Regions from separate parts of the Homo sapiens genome. Here all the other regions are linked to region 1. Evidence: promoter capture Hi-C in human tissues and cell types (Jung and others, 2019). All regions are on one chromosome and are shown on one strand. Each heading gives the region's core, a stretch centred on a gene start or on the middle of the fragment in contact. The rest is flanking DNA. Distances are from core to core; before and after follow the strand shown. Region 1 holds the start of SFRP2 (secreted frizzled related protein 2). Region 2 overlaps LOC101927947 (a long non-coding RNA gene). Region 3 overlaps LOC101927947 (a long non-coding RNA gene).

Region 1 (4,446 bases), core at 211-2,710:
TCCTCTAAGCAGCTGGACCGCAAAGTGTGCCTGATAACTTGGGCCTGGGAGCCGCCAAGGCCAACGCATCTTCCGGAAGGAGGGAAATTAGGAAGCCGGGGTCTGAGCCTGTGAATGACTCTTAAGTGGTCGGGAAGTAATAACAATGCGCCCACCTTACATATGAAAGAACTTCGCCCTCCGGGGATTATCTCTTTGGATCTTCACAGCCACCCGGAGACAGCGGCTGAGGAGAGCGAAGGCCTCCTGTCCCCATAGGGAGACTAGGGACAATTAGGCAAAAGGAGCCCACCCCCCAACCCAGAACTTACTGTTTGCAGTCAGAGACACTAGATCCCAGGCTCCACGAGAGCAGAGGCCGGCCTGTTTGTTCATTTCTGCACATCCAGCGCCCAGCATGGTGCCCCCTGGTACGTAGGGGATGAATGAGCTAATTCTAGCCCTCGTGGATCTCTAGGCAGGACTCCTTCCTCTACCTCGCTCCCTCCCAGCCTGCCCATCTTTTGTGCCCGTCTTTTGTGCCGGCCACCAGTCTTTACAAACAGTGCCCTGGGGGCCCATACTCCAGCTTTCCAGAGCGCACAGCTGCAAGGGCGGCTGTGTGTTAGAGCCCGTGATGCCTTCGAGTATTGAGTCATGCCATTCATTTAAGAAGGAAAAATCTCTCCAAAACGGGGAAATGGTGGGCAGTCCTGTGTGACTGGTGAGACTCTTGTAGGGGCGTTTCTACAACGACGAAACCCTTCCTAGGCACTCACTCCAACAGAATAACAAGCCCATTTTATTAGTATTTCGTTTTCCATGTAAAGTTCTGCTCATACGAATATATTTATAATTCTGATTTTTTTACGGCATTGGGGAGCACACCGACAGGCTGCTGAACGGTGGCTGGAGATTCGAGGGAAAACGAAGTTCGCCGAGGCGGCCTCGGGCGGGCAGGTCCCGGGCTCCATCACAGGGCACACGCGGCTACCAGGGACGCAGCCCCCCAACACACACACACACACACACACACACACACACACACACACACACACCCTCTCCCACTCATGCCTGGCAACCCAGCAGAAACTTCGGACTGGGGCAAAACAAGCCCGGGCCCCGGCGGCACGCGGGGCTAGGCGCGTTCCCGCCAGTACCTGGTCGCGAGGCCGCTCGCGGGGTGCCCTGCGTGCCCCCCACTCCCGCAGCCCGCGCCCTGCTCGCTCACTGTGGGGGCGCAGCGGCCAGGCTTCTCTGTTTGTTGTTTAAAGAAATCCTAGGGCGGGCGAGCGGCGGCATCTAGGGGAGGGGGCGCAGCCAGAATTCCCTTCCAGCAAGCGCGTGAGGGGCATTCTCAACGCAAAACCAGACCCAGAAAGTAGTGACCAGCCCTCCTCGGATTACCCTTCATTGGCTCCTCCCTTGCTCCCCCCACCCTCCAGATTTGCATAAAAAAGGCCAAGAAAACTCTGGCTGTGCCCCAGCAACGGCTCATTCTGCTCCCCCGGGTCGGAGCCCCCCGGAGCTGCGCGCGGGCTTGCAGCGCCTCGCCCGCGCTGTCCTCCCGGTGTCCCGCTTCTCCGCGCCCCAGCCGCCGGCTGCCAGCTTTTCGGGGCCCCGAGTCGCACCCAGCGAAGAGAGCGGGCCCGGGACAAGCTCGAACTCCGGCCGCCTCGCCCTTCCCCGGCTCCGCTCCCTCTGCCCCCTCGGGGTCGCGCGCCCACGATGCTGCAGGGCCCTGGCTCGCTGCTGCTGCTCTTCCTCGCCTCGCACTGCTGCCTGGGCTCGGCGCGCGGGCTCTTCCTCTTTGGCCAGCCCGACTTCTCCTACAAGCGCAGCAATTGCAAGCCCATCCCTGCCAACCTGCAGCTGTGCCACGGCATCGAATACCAGAACATGCGGCTGCCCAACCTGCTGGGCCACGAGACCATGAAGGAGGTGCTGGAGCAGGCCGGCGCTTGGATCCCGCTGGTCATGAAGCAGTGCCACCCGGACACCAAGAAGTTCCTGTGCTCGCTCTTCGCCCCCGTCTGCCTCGATGACCTAGACGAGACCATCCAGCCATGCCACTCGCTCTGCGTGCAGGTGAAGGACCGCTGCGCCCCGGTCATGTCCGCCTTCGGCTTCCCCTGGCCCGACATGCTTGAGTGCGACCGTTTCCCCCAGGACAACGACCTTTGCATCCCCCTCGCTAGCAGCGACCACCTCCTGCCAGCCACCGAGGAAGGTAAGCCTTCCCTCTTGCTTCCCCACTCCCTGCTGGGCTGAGACGCTCCCAGGAGATCCCGCCCCTGCCACGCATCCCAGTGCATCCCTGCTTGGGGTGCCAGTAGCGGGAAGGGCAGAAGTTCTGCCTGACCTGGTCTGTCATCACAACAAGCCTGTATCAAATTTGAGGCACCCCTCCCACGCCGCCCAAGTCTCGCGCATTCTCCTCCCGAGTTGTACCAGCTATACTTAAGGGCAGTTTAAAAATAAAACAAACAAACAAAAACAACAAAACTAAAAAAACGAAGAACTGAACGGCGGTTTAAAAAAAAATAGATACACGATTATTGTTAAAGATGCTAGCACTGGAGCTGCGCAGAGCGTTGGAAGTGGTGTTTGGTGGAGGAGTTTGTGGTGAGCATTCTGGCCAGAGGCCCCTCGCTCAGCCTCATTCTGCACCTTCCTACCACTGGGCAGGATTCTAGTCACAGGAACATTTCCTGTACAGAAAGGAAAACCAGGATGCACAAGTAGATAACCTTTTAAGGGTCTTTTTGTCCTTTGTCAATTTAGATTTTGGAAATAAAACCGGGACTGGCACGGAGTGTGTGGAAAATTGAACATTGGTTGTAACTGCTCAGATACTTGAGGAAGAGGGCATAAAGGGAATCTCTGGAAATCACTTTTCTATTGCTATCAGTTTTTAACTTAGGAGTGGTTTTGATTAGCTGGAGAAAATCATGCAAAAGAGATTCCCAAGTTTTTAGAAAACGGAGGGAGAGTTCCTGTGCAAAAACCATCAAAGCAATGAAAACCTCATGGGCTCTCAATATTTTTTCTGAAAGGAAAACATATACAATGCCTCTGAGCTGATTTGGGTCCCCTGGGTTGGAAAAGGGAGCTTCCTAATCCCTTTCAGGGCTTCAGCAGCCTCTCCCTTTCAATCTCTAGTAGTTTTCCTACAGACATCATTAGTTAAAGCAAATGCAAAGTTCTTTAGCAATCTTTCCTGGCAGGGACCATGAGTTTGCAATCATCTTATTGGTTAGATTTCTAATTTATTGCAAATGTTTGGCATTTTTCAAACATTTGTCCAACATGTACCATAGACCAACCAATACAGGTTAGTAATATTTTATATACATCCTGAGAGCTCCTAATTGGAAATGTTTGATTTTGTTTGGGTGAGGGGACTTAAGGGCAGTTTTATGTATGTTGCTTTTATTTCTTCCCACTATCAGCAGCAACATTACGCATCTTACATTTCTCCAAAAAGCCACTTTTCTCCTTCAAAATAAAAGTTTATGTTCTTCAAAATTCCAGCTTTGTGATTTTTCTAATTTGATAAATAACGCTTCTATTAAGTCACATAGTTTTCTATGAACATTAAATTTCACATTAGTGAAAATCTCATTTCACCTAAATTTTAAAGACATAATTAACACATTTATAAATGAGAGAAGGGCAATATAATTGTTCTTTTTTTTTTTTTTTTACTTCTCCCAAGAAATCAAACTCTTAGAAGAGCTTTTAGCAGGTCTTCTGATAATTGTGCTAGTATACAATCCCTAAGTTTGATCAGACCACTAAACCATTTTTGCTTCGTCTTTGATTAGCTTCAGAAACAGGTTTATTTATTTGTTTGTTTTGAGAGTTTGAAACAGGCACAGAAGGGCAAGAAGAACCTGTACCAGGGAGCTTGCAGATAACAATGAAATGAATGCTGCCTAACTCAAGCACAATCTTGGCAGAGGCACAAGGTGACACAGAACCACTTAGAGCAGGCTGTTGTAATTAGTGAGATGTGTTTTCAAGGTGGAAACAGCCCACATGTGGAACGCTAGCCAGTCACCCCTCCCAGTCCAGACTTGGCCCCCCTGAGATACAGAGCTCTGCCGAGTAGAGCCAACTACACTGGTGTCCTGTGGCTGAGAAAGACAATCTTTTGTCTATATTTTCTAGTTACCAGTTTTCCCAAATTCCTCAAGTATCTTTGGTTCTTTGGGTGCTTTCTCCTTCAAAAGGCCTTGGGAATAACTTTTTCAGACTGAATTTCCCAGAGGTTGGGAGGATGAGCTGAAAAGCTGCACCCTGTCTCAGTTAACTATAACTACATACACTTGTATACTCTGCCCACAACTCCCTTTTGAGAGTCATAATTTATTAAACACAACAACATATAGGCATTCTCATTTTGCTCCCACCACCCCTCCCCCCCAAAAAAATTGGGAAGCATGGGAAAACTTTCTTAGGATT
Region 2 (4,411 bases), core at 1,038-3,537, 150 kb before region 1:
TGGGTGGGTAAAAAAGAATGAATTGAACATGGAAAACCACCCATCATGTACAAATGCTCAATGATGTTAATGAATAATGGATGAGCTGGCAGCTCACGCACCGCATGTTAGACCGAGTGCTATGGCATGAGCTCCATGACAGCAGAGACCTCTCCTGTTTATATCTGTGTCCCCAGAGCTTAAAACACTGTAGCTCAATCAACTAAAAAGCAAAATGAAAATGTGACTGTCAGTGGATATTTTAGGGGGCAAATGTTATGAAACAAAAATAAAACAAAACAAACATTCCACCTTAACTCACAAAAGGTTATTTTCCCATCTATCTGGAAAGCTCAGGTTAGATCTTTAATAAAAATCAAAACTTTTAAAAATTGGTTTTAAAAACCTTAAGAGGAAGGTCTGTGAACAGAGAGCAGTAATTGATTTCTTTTTTTTTCTAGCTTTATTGAGGTATAATTATACATAAAAATTGTGTATGTTTACAGTGTATAACTACATATATATATATATATATATATATATATATATATATATATATATACTGTGAAATGAGCACCACAATCAAGCTAAGTGATATATCCATCACCTCACATAGCTATTTTCTTTTTTGTTGTGCTGAGAACATTAAAGATCTACTCTTTTAGCAAATTGCAAGTATACAATACAGTATTATTAACTACAGTCGCCATGCTGAACATTAGCTCTCTAGAACTTACTCATCCTGAATAACTATGACTTTGACCAACATTTCCCCATTTTCCTCAGCCTAAATCCACCAACCACCATTTTACTTTCTATTTCTTTGAGTCTCTCTTTTTTAGATTTCACATATAAGTGAGATCACATGGCATTTGTTGTTATGTGCCCAGCTTATTCCACTTAACATAATGTCCTCCAGGTTCATACATGTTGTCACAAATGACAGGATTTCCTTCTTTTTTATGGCTGAATAATATTACATTGTGTATATATGCCACATTTTCTTTATCCAATCAACCTTCAATGGACACAGGTTGATTCCATATTTTGGCTGTTGTGAATAATTCTGCAATGAACACGTGAGTGGATATACCTCTTCAAGATATTGCTTTTATTTCTATTAAATATATACCCACTCTGATTTATAGTAACCAGTTTACCTCCAGTTCATACCACACTTCACCGAGGAAGACTCGTTGACTATCACATCCAGACTACTCTAATAAGAAGCATCATAAGACCCTGGAATAATTTGCCCAAAGAATCTTGGCTATTTTCTATCTGCTTTTGGTAATTTCTATAAAAAGTAATTCTGGAAGATGCCAAATTTTAACTTCTATGCAATTCTCATAATTCTATTTTCACTGTTCACTTTACAACAAAACAAGCCAAGGTGACCACACCACTCTCCAAAGGAAGAAGTTAAAACCCCTTCCCAATAGGATCTTGGATTAAACTTAAGACCTGGACTTTGAGAATGTTCAGCTCAGGGAAATCTGACAGTATATGTATCTCTCTGCTGGATTCCACATGTCAACATATACATTTTCCATACAGCTATGAGTATATTCTACCACTATATGCTTAAAATCTAGCACTGTTTTTATTGCTCAAGAAAACCAGAAGATATTTATCCTCACATGATAATGGCTTCAGGACACAGGGGGCATTGGTGATGACCTCCAAATGAAACACACCCAGTGCTCCACGGCCACCCTTCCCCAGCCCAGCCCTGATGTTTCCCAGAGCATCTTCTGGTTACACTAACTGACAGCAACTTCAGACTCGCACATGGAAACTTACTGTTGCAGTTAGACTTTATCATCCCGTTGTTTCTTCCTGTGTAATACAGATAATCAACCACATGAAAACAGGGGCTGTGCAGAGCAAATACTATCAGATGGTCCATCAAAACCTACACTCATCAACTCCAAGAAATATAGATCAGCCTGTATTTCATCAATCTAACCTCGCAAACCCAGCCAGTGGCTATATATCTGGATTTCTTCCTCAATTCACATTGCTTTTTTATTGCTGGTTTGGGCAGTTTTTTCCACTGGATAAGTATTTGTGCTTATATATATTTTTTAATTTGATGAAATTTCTTTGCATGAAGTCTGATTTTGTATTTCATCATCTAATTCTAAGATATCTTGCTTTATGAACTTGAACATGCTGCTTTTTAAGGGAAATTAAAAAATAACATTACCTACTATTTCCAGGGACTTTATAAATATTAACTTGTTTATACATTTAAAAAGCCTACATGATATTGTTGTCTCTATTACATAAATGAAGAGAATGAAAATAATAGAAGTTAAATAACTTGCTCAAAACATTACACCACTGGTAAGTGTTGTTACAGGAATGTGAATAGAGATCTATCTGGTACCAAAGCCATGGTCTTTCCACTCCACCACACTGCCCCATCACAGATCTGGTTACATTGGGAGAATAGGAAACATAACAAGCCTATGAAGTACTAAGTGTTATCATTAAATTAGAATTCCACATAATACTTATAACAGGAATAATCAGGGTTCTCCTTATATTTTCTCCTAAATGTGCACAAACACAACTGTCTCAATGTCCTCGGGATTAAATGAGAGTCTATTTGATTTAGTAAACTATTATTAGACATTATTAGATTACATAGAGAGATACTATTATTAGATTATGTAGAGAGACACTATTGTATATGTTCATTGGAACTGGGGTTAAAAGACCTTTGAAAAATCCAGCTTCTCCATTTGATATCTGTGTGAATTTGCACACATTACTGATTATTCAGAGTTCTCTTATTTGTAAAATTGTGTTTGACAGAGAAGGACAATGCTTTCCAGATATACCACTCCACCTCCCTGCAGTCAGGGTGAGACCATGTGACTAACTCGAGCTGGTGAAATCTGAAAGCACACGACTTGAATCTCTACAGGTCAAGGAAGGTACAAACCAGTGTATCTCCTCCAGCCCTCCCTCAGCTGAAGCAACCTCAGAGGCCACATGTGTCAGATGTTCTATTTGGTATAGCTGCAAGATCGAGGTGGTTCATCCAATTACCATCACACTTTTCCTGAGGGAGAAAGAAACCTCTGTTGTGTTAAACCACTGACATTATCAGGGTTTCCCTGCTATGGCAGCTACAGTTAACTAACCCAACTAGTGCATGGGGATAATAGTTTCTGTCATACTACTTTAGATTATTGTAAGACTAAAAGAAGAATATTGAAATAAATATTTGTTAACCTTATCTTTACATGGATCTATGTAAGCCTTTATATAAGCCTTTACATAGGCTTATGATTGTTATTACACACATTTTTAAAATCTGACTTTATTACTCTGAGTTTTTTATAGTGTAATGATAATGTAAAAATTGTTTTAATTATCTTAACAATTATTTGTAAAAGAAAGTATGCTTCTGACCTGCTTAATATGTTGTTTTAAGTAAAATAAATGTTTTCTTTACCTTGTGGACACTATTTTCTTGTTCAACAAGCTTCCACAGAAGATAGTATAAACACAAGCTTTAGCTCAATTCTTATTGAACTACTACAAATATGCATGATCTTCTTTCTTAATTAATGAGGCCTCAATGGAGTTTACTTCCTAGGGAATTGCTCTCTTTTTCCTGATCATGTAGACAGCAGAAGACGGGAGAATTGGCATGCCCAATGGTTTTCACGAGATTAACACCTACAGAATAAATGCCTTTCATGCATATTAACATGGTACAGGACCTGGCTTTCAATCCCACTAACTATTGGCCTTGTTTGAAACAATGCCAATTCATTCACTAGGTATCAGAAAAAACAAGCCATGGCAAGTGAATGATGTCATGTTCCCTTTCTCTCTGTCCTTACGTATTTTTACTTGAATTTAGTATTGAGAATAGAACTAAAGTCAGAGACCAAGGTACAACAATGACCTAAATTCATGCACAAAAAGATACTACTTAGAGCTACAAAAAGGGCTTGTCTGGAGTTTGGGGAGGAGGTTGCTGCATTGAGAAAGAAGATAAACACAAAGAGAGCGAAGATAAAATATACAAAAATAGGTAGCAAATATTCCCTGTGAGACTGGGTGTGGTGGCTCATGCCTGTAATGCCAGCACTTTGGAGGGCCAAGGCAGGCAGATTGCTTGAGCTCAGGAGTTTGAGACCAGCCTGGGCAACATACCAAAACCCTGTCTCTACAAAAAATACCAAAAAATTAGCTTCTCTTAAGAGGCTGAGGTGGGAAGATGGCTTGAACCCAGGAGGTCAAGGCTGCAGTGAGCCGTGATCATGCCACTGCACTCCAGCCTGGGTGACAAAGTGAGACACTGTCTCAAAAAAAAATAAAAATAAAAAAATATACACACACACACACACACACACACACACACATTTCCTGTGAAACTTCTCCTCTTAAAGCCTTCCTTGTTTCATTT
Region 3 (3,868 bases), core at 1,151-3,650, 180 kb before region 1:
GCAGCATTGAGGGGGAAATCTGTCTCCATGATCCAACCACCTCCCACCAGGCTCCTTCTCCAACACTGGGGATGACAATTCAACATGAGATTTGGGCGGGGACACAGAGCCAAGCCATATCATGAGTTATTTAAGGGATTTAAATTTTTATCTTTTATAAGAAAAGTCAATAATTATAATGAGAAGTAGCAGTATCATATTATTTAGAAATATAGAACTACATATTAAGGAATAAAGCTAAAATAAACAAAAACAGCTGTCTCTGGGGAATCTGACTTAGGACGGGAAGGTAGGAAACTGATATTTCTAATTCTTATCTACTATTTGACTTTTTATAATTCTGTATATGTATTGCTTTTGGTAACATATTTAAAAGGGAGAAGCAGGAAACCAGAATTTTATTGGAAACTCCCAAGTTTAATATGTGTTGAAAATTAATACAAAATTAACAGATAGAAAGGTAGGAGGACACCTCAGGGTTCAAACAACATACCTCCCTAACTAACCTCTCTATGCCAGACCAGGCATCTGGGCCACAGGAAGGTTTTGAAGGGTAGAAAAGTAATACTTATTGAGCAACTAGCGCATGCTAGCACCATTAGAGAAGATTTTCAGAGATCATTCTGCTTCATCTTCACCACGACCCTGAGGAGTAGAGAAATTATTTTACAGATGAAGGACTAAGTCTCTGAAGGATGAAGAACATAATTGCAAGCACTCGTTTATATTTCCAACTGTGAACTTCAGAGGACTGTGGACGGCATCTGACAACTGACAACTGATTCTCATCACACCTCAGATGTGTGGAGTCATTTTACATATGAGAAAATTGAGACTCACCAAGGTCAAGTGACTGACTTTGTTATACAATGAGTAAGCAGCAGAGCTGCAATGTGGCCCCAGCCTCCAATTACAACTCCCTACTCTGAGCCTTTGGGAGACACAAACTGTGTCTTCTCCCTGTTTGTACCCCCAGCACCTCATACACTGTGCATGGCACATAGGAAATGCTCGCTCAAAGTCTGTTGACTGAAGCAGGCAAGGCTCTGAAGGGGTCTCACCTAGTTCATTAGCCCATTAGCACAGGTTGATTCCAGTAGAATCAAGCTCCCAAACTTCCTCTTTCTAGGTGCCATGCATGTGACTTGTACAAGGGCTGTCTGGATGCAGCTTCTGCAAGGGAAGACCCTTTCTCCAGAACAAGAGAGAACCATTTAGTTCACCTTCAAGTGACCCAGAAAAAGTCAATTTACAGCTCTCCAGTCCAGGACTTAACACTGAAATGTCACACACTTAAATCACAGGACAAGAGCATTTTCACTCTCACGAAATAGCAAAATTAAATCTTTAATGCCAAAAATAAAATAAAACTGTGGAAACAATTTTGGAGCCCACAGAACTTTCAAAAATGTTATTAACAAACTGTGAAATCAGGGAGATAAAAATCAGACACCCTGAGGGGGAACAGCAGGGCCCCCAGTCCAACCTCCTCACCCTGAGTCATGGAGAGACCAGTTTCCACTCTGTGAGTCCAGGAAGCAGGGGGTATGGAGCTAATGCATGTCTCCTGCTCCACGCTGGCTCTTAGGGCAACACTTGGAACATGGGATGAGTAAATTCTCCAACATATGAAATTGTTGAGAAATTGGGTTCATTCTCGTAGTTTCCCTTGGCCGATTCAACACCTCTGGGCAGGAATCGGAATTACACAGCTTATCACTAGGGCTTCCACAATAATAAATTTAAAATTATTCCCAAGAAAGAAGTACTTGTTGTATGGATTAAGTACTGTAGAGCATTCACAAAGAGCAGGGTGGATTACAAAATATTTCCAAAAGTTCCTCTTTCTTGTCTAAGATCTTTGCAGTAATGGTGATGTTAGCAGGATTCTGTTCTGCTCTTAATCAGAAAAATTTGGAGTCAGTTAACTTTATTGCTCACAGAGATGCTTCCTAAGACTAGAGAGATGATGGAATAACATCTAGAGAAGTGTATCTACCCCTAACCATGTGGCAGGGTGGTTACCTATCTAAAGTCTCTTGCCAGGTTTAAGAGGACGAGCATGTGTGAGTATGAGGAGGCTATGGCCCTATGTCCAGGAAACACAGATCTAATACCACCCCCGACCCTCGGATCCTCAGAAAAAAAAACAACACCAAAGTCCCCAAGCAATAGAATAGGGATAAGAGAAAAGGGTACAATTCTACAGACATTCATAGCTTTCCTGTAACAGTCTTCCTTGTTCTCCTGACACTGGCTCACAGGAATTTCTGAAGAACCTACTGCAGGCCCTCTGGAATATCAAATTTTTCCAGCCCTGCTCTCTGAACACAAGTTGCACAAAACTGCAAGGGTAGTTCTATATTTCTAACCATAAGTATTAAACCAGGTGGCTACTAGGCCTCCTTAGGGCCAGCAGGGTGATTCACTTCCATTCCCACTTCTATTCCCACTTCTATTCCCACTTCTGTTAAAAGTCTATTAAAGACCAATAGATAAAGCACCACAAAAATGCACATTTTTTAACTCATTCATACTTGGCATGGGAATCTCTGATTTTAACCAACATTACAAGGGAAACACTTGGATCGTGGGGGCTGGTATATCTTAGAGAAAGTCATGCAAGCAAGACTGAACTGCCTATATACATCTTCACGAATGTTCTCTGTCAATCTTTGCTCAAGAATCCTTGAAATCATGCAGTATTTCCTGGAAAAATCTCTCTTTCCTCCTTACTCAAACTTGAGGTGATGTAACCATCCTGTGTTAGGGCAGAATTATCAGCTTTAGAAATAGTTTGTCTTACAGGGTTTTTGCATTTGGGAGAAGAGTGGTTGCTGTGCTTGCCTGGCTTTGAGGACTGTCAGTCCTTTCACTGTTCTGCAAATCGACAGTCCAAAAGTGCATTAATGCTTCAAATCAAAATTATCTCCATCATATTTTTTCATATTTGCCACCCCCAAAACATCTGAAATGCTGCTGAGTATACTTGACCTTTTCTGGTGCAATTCAAGCTCAATAAATAAAACTCCACCTCTGGAATCTTTCTATGCAAATGCAAGCTTTATAATAAAGGTTGTCTCTATATTGATGGTGGAATCAGATATGGCACAACTACCCTAAAAGAGAATCTGGGACTCTGTAGTGTAGTAAAAGCCTGCAAATAATTATATCTGAGGTCACCCTTCACTTCCAACAACTTATCCTGTGGTAATTAGGAGTGTTCCTAAAGATGCTTACGCCAGCAGTTTTTATGATGGGAAAAATTTGAAATCAATCCAAAGTTTCATTAATAAGACATTGTTTCAATTAATTATTAATCTTTGTATGATGCATGGATATATATTAAAGGTAATATCAGTAGGATTATCTAATGTACTGGTTACACAGTGAGAGACATAGAAAGAGTGAAGTTTCGGCCTGAATAACTTTAAAACATGAGAGTGCCACTTACTGAGTTAGGAAACGCTGGAGGAGGAGCAGCTATAGGGCTAATCAAAACGATGTTTGCCCGAGTTCATGATCATGATCCCAGTTTACACTCAGATGTGCTTACTGGCTCTGGGCCAGGCACAGCTGTACTATTTGACAGCTATATTCACTCATTTAATTATCAGAGTAATTCTTAGAGATAGATTACTATGATTGCACCTGGGATTATGATTTACTTTTTATATCTAAATATTCCAAATATCTAAATATTCATTTACAGTGAATATGTGTACCTTATATATAAAGGCAAGTTGAATGTGTGTGTGTGATCACCCCAGTGACAAATAATGATACATGTATCAATTTTAGTACTCACTGAGTCCCTAGTGATTGCTCAATCTAGGTTGCTATGAGATTCACAAGTGATCTTTTAGTT

What was found. The method cuts DNA at HindIII sites, captures the fragments that hold promoters and counts their contacts. A contact is called where the count stands out against the background at its distance.
Region 2: a fragment that was not itself captured here is called in contact with the fragment with the promoter of SFRP2 in region 1 in 2 of the 25 tissues and cell types used here (mesendoderm cells and neural progenitor cells).
Region 3: a contact is called between a fragment that was not itself captured here and the fragment with the promoter of SFRP2 in region 1, in 1 of the 25 tissues and cell types used here (mesendoderm cells).

What each region holds. Positions count from the first base shown.
Region 1 is chr4:153,786,097-153,790,542 of GRCh38, reverse strand. SFRP2 (secreted frizzled related protein 2) reads left to right here and starts at 1,460. Exons shown (of 3, transcript NM_003013.3): 1 at 1,460-2,209. The coding sequence starts at 1,708. RefSeq lists enhancers at 1-530, 531-1,232, 1,147-1,316. The HindIII fragment of the contact is 9,313 bases long and covers 1-4,446 here.
Region 2 is chr4:153,934,877-153,939,287 of GRCh38, reverse strand. The region is part of intron 6 of LOC101927947 (a long non-coding RNA gene); the gene reads right to left. Among named protein-coding and RNA genes, the nearest start is that of SFRP2, 150 kb to the right of the region's middle. The HindIII fragment of the contact is 5,944 bases long and covers 1-4,411 here.
Region 3 is chr4:153,969,744-153,973,611 of GRCh38, reverse strand. The region is part of intron 8 of LOC101927947 (a long non-coding RNA gene); the gene reads right to left. Among named protein-coding and RNA genes, the nearest start is that of SFRP2, 180 kb to the right of the region's middle. The HindIII fragment of the contact is 8,576 bases long and covers 1-3,868 here.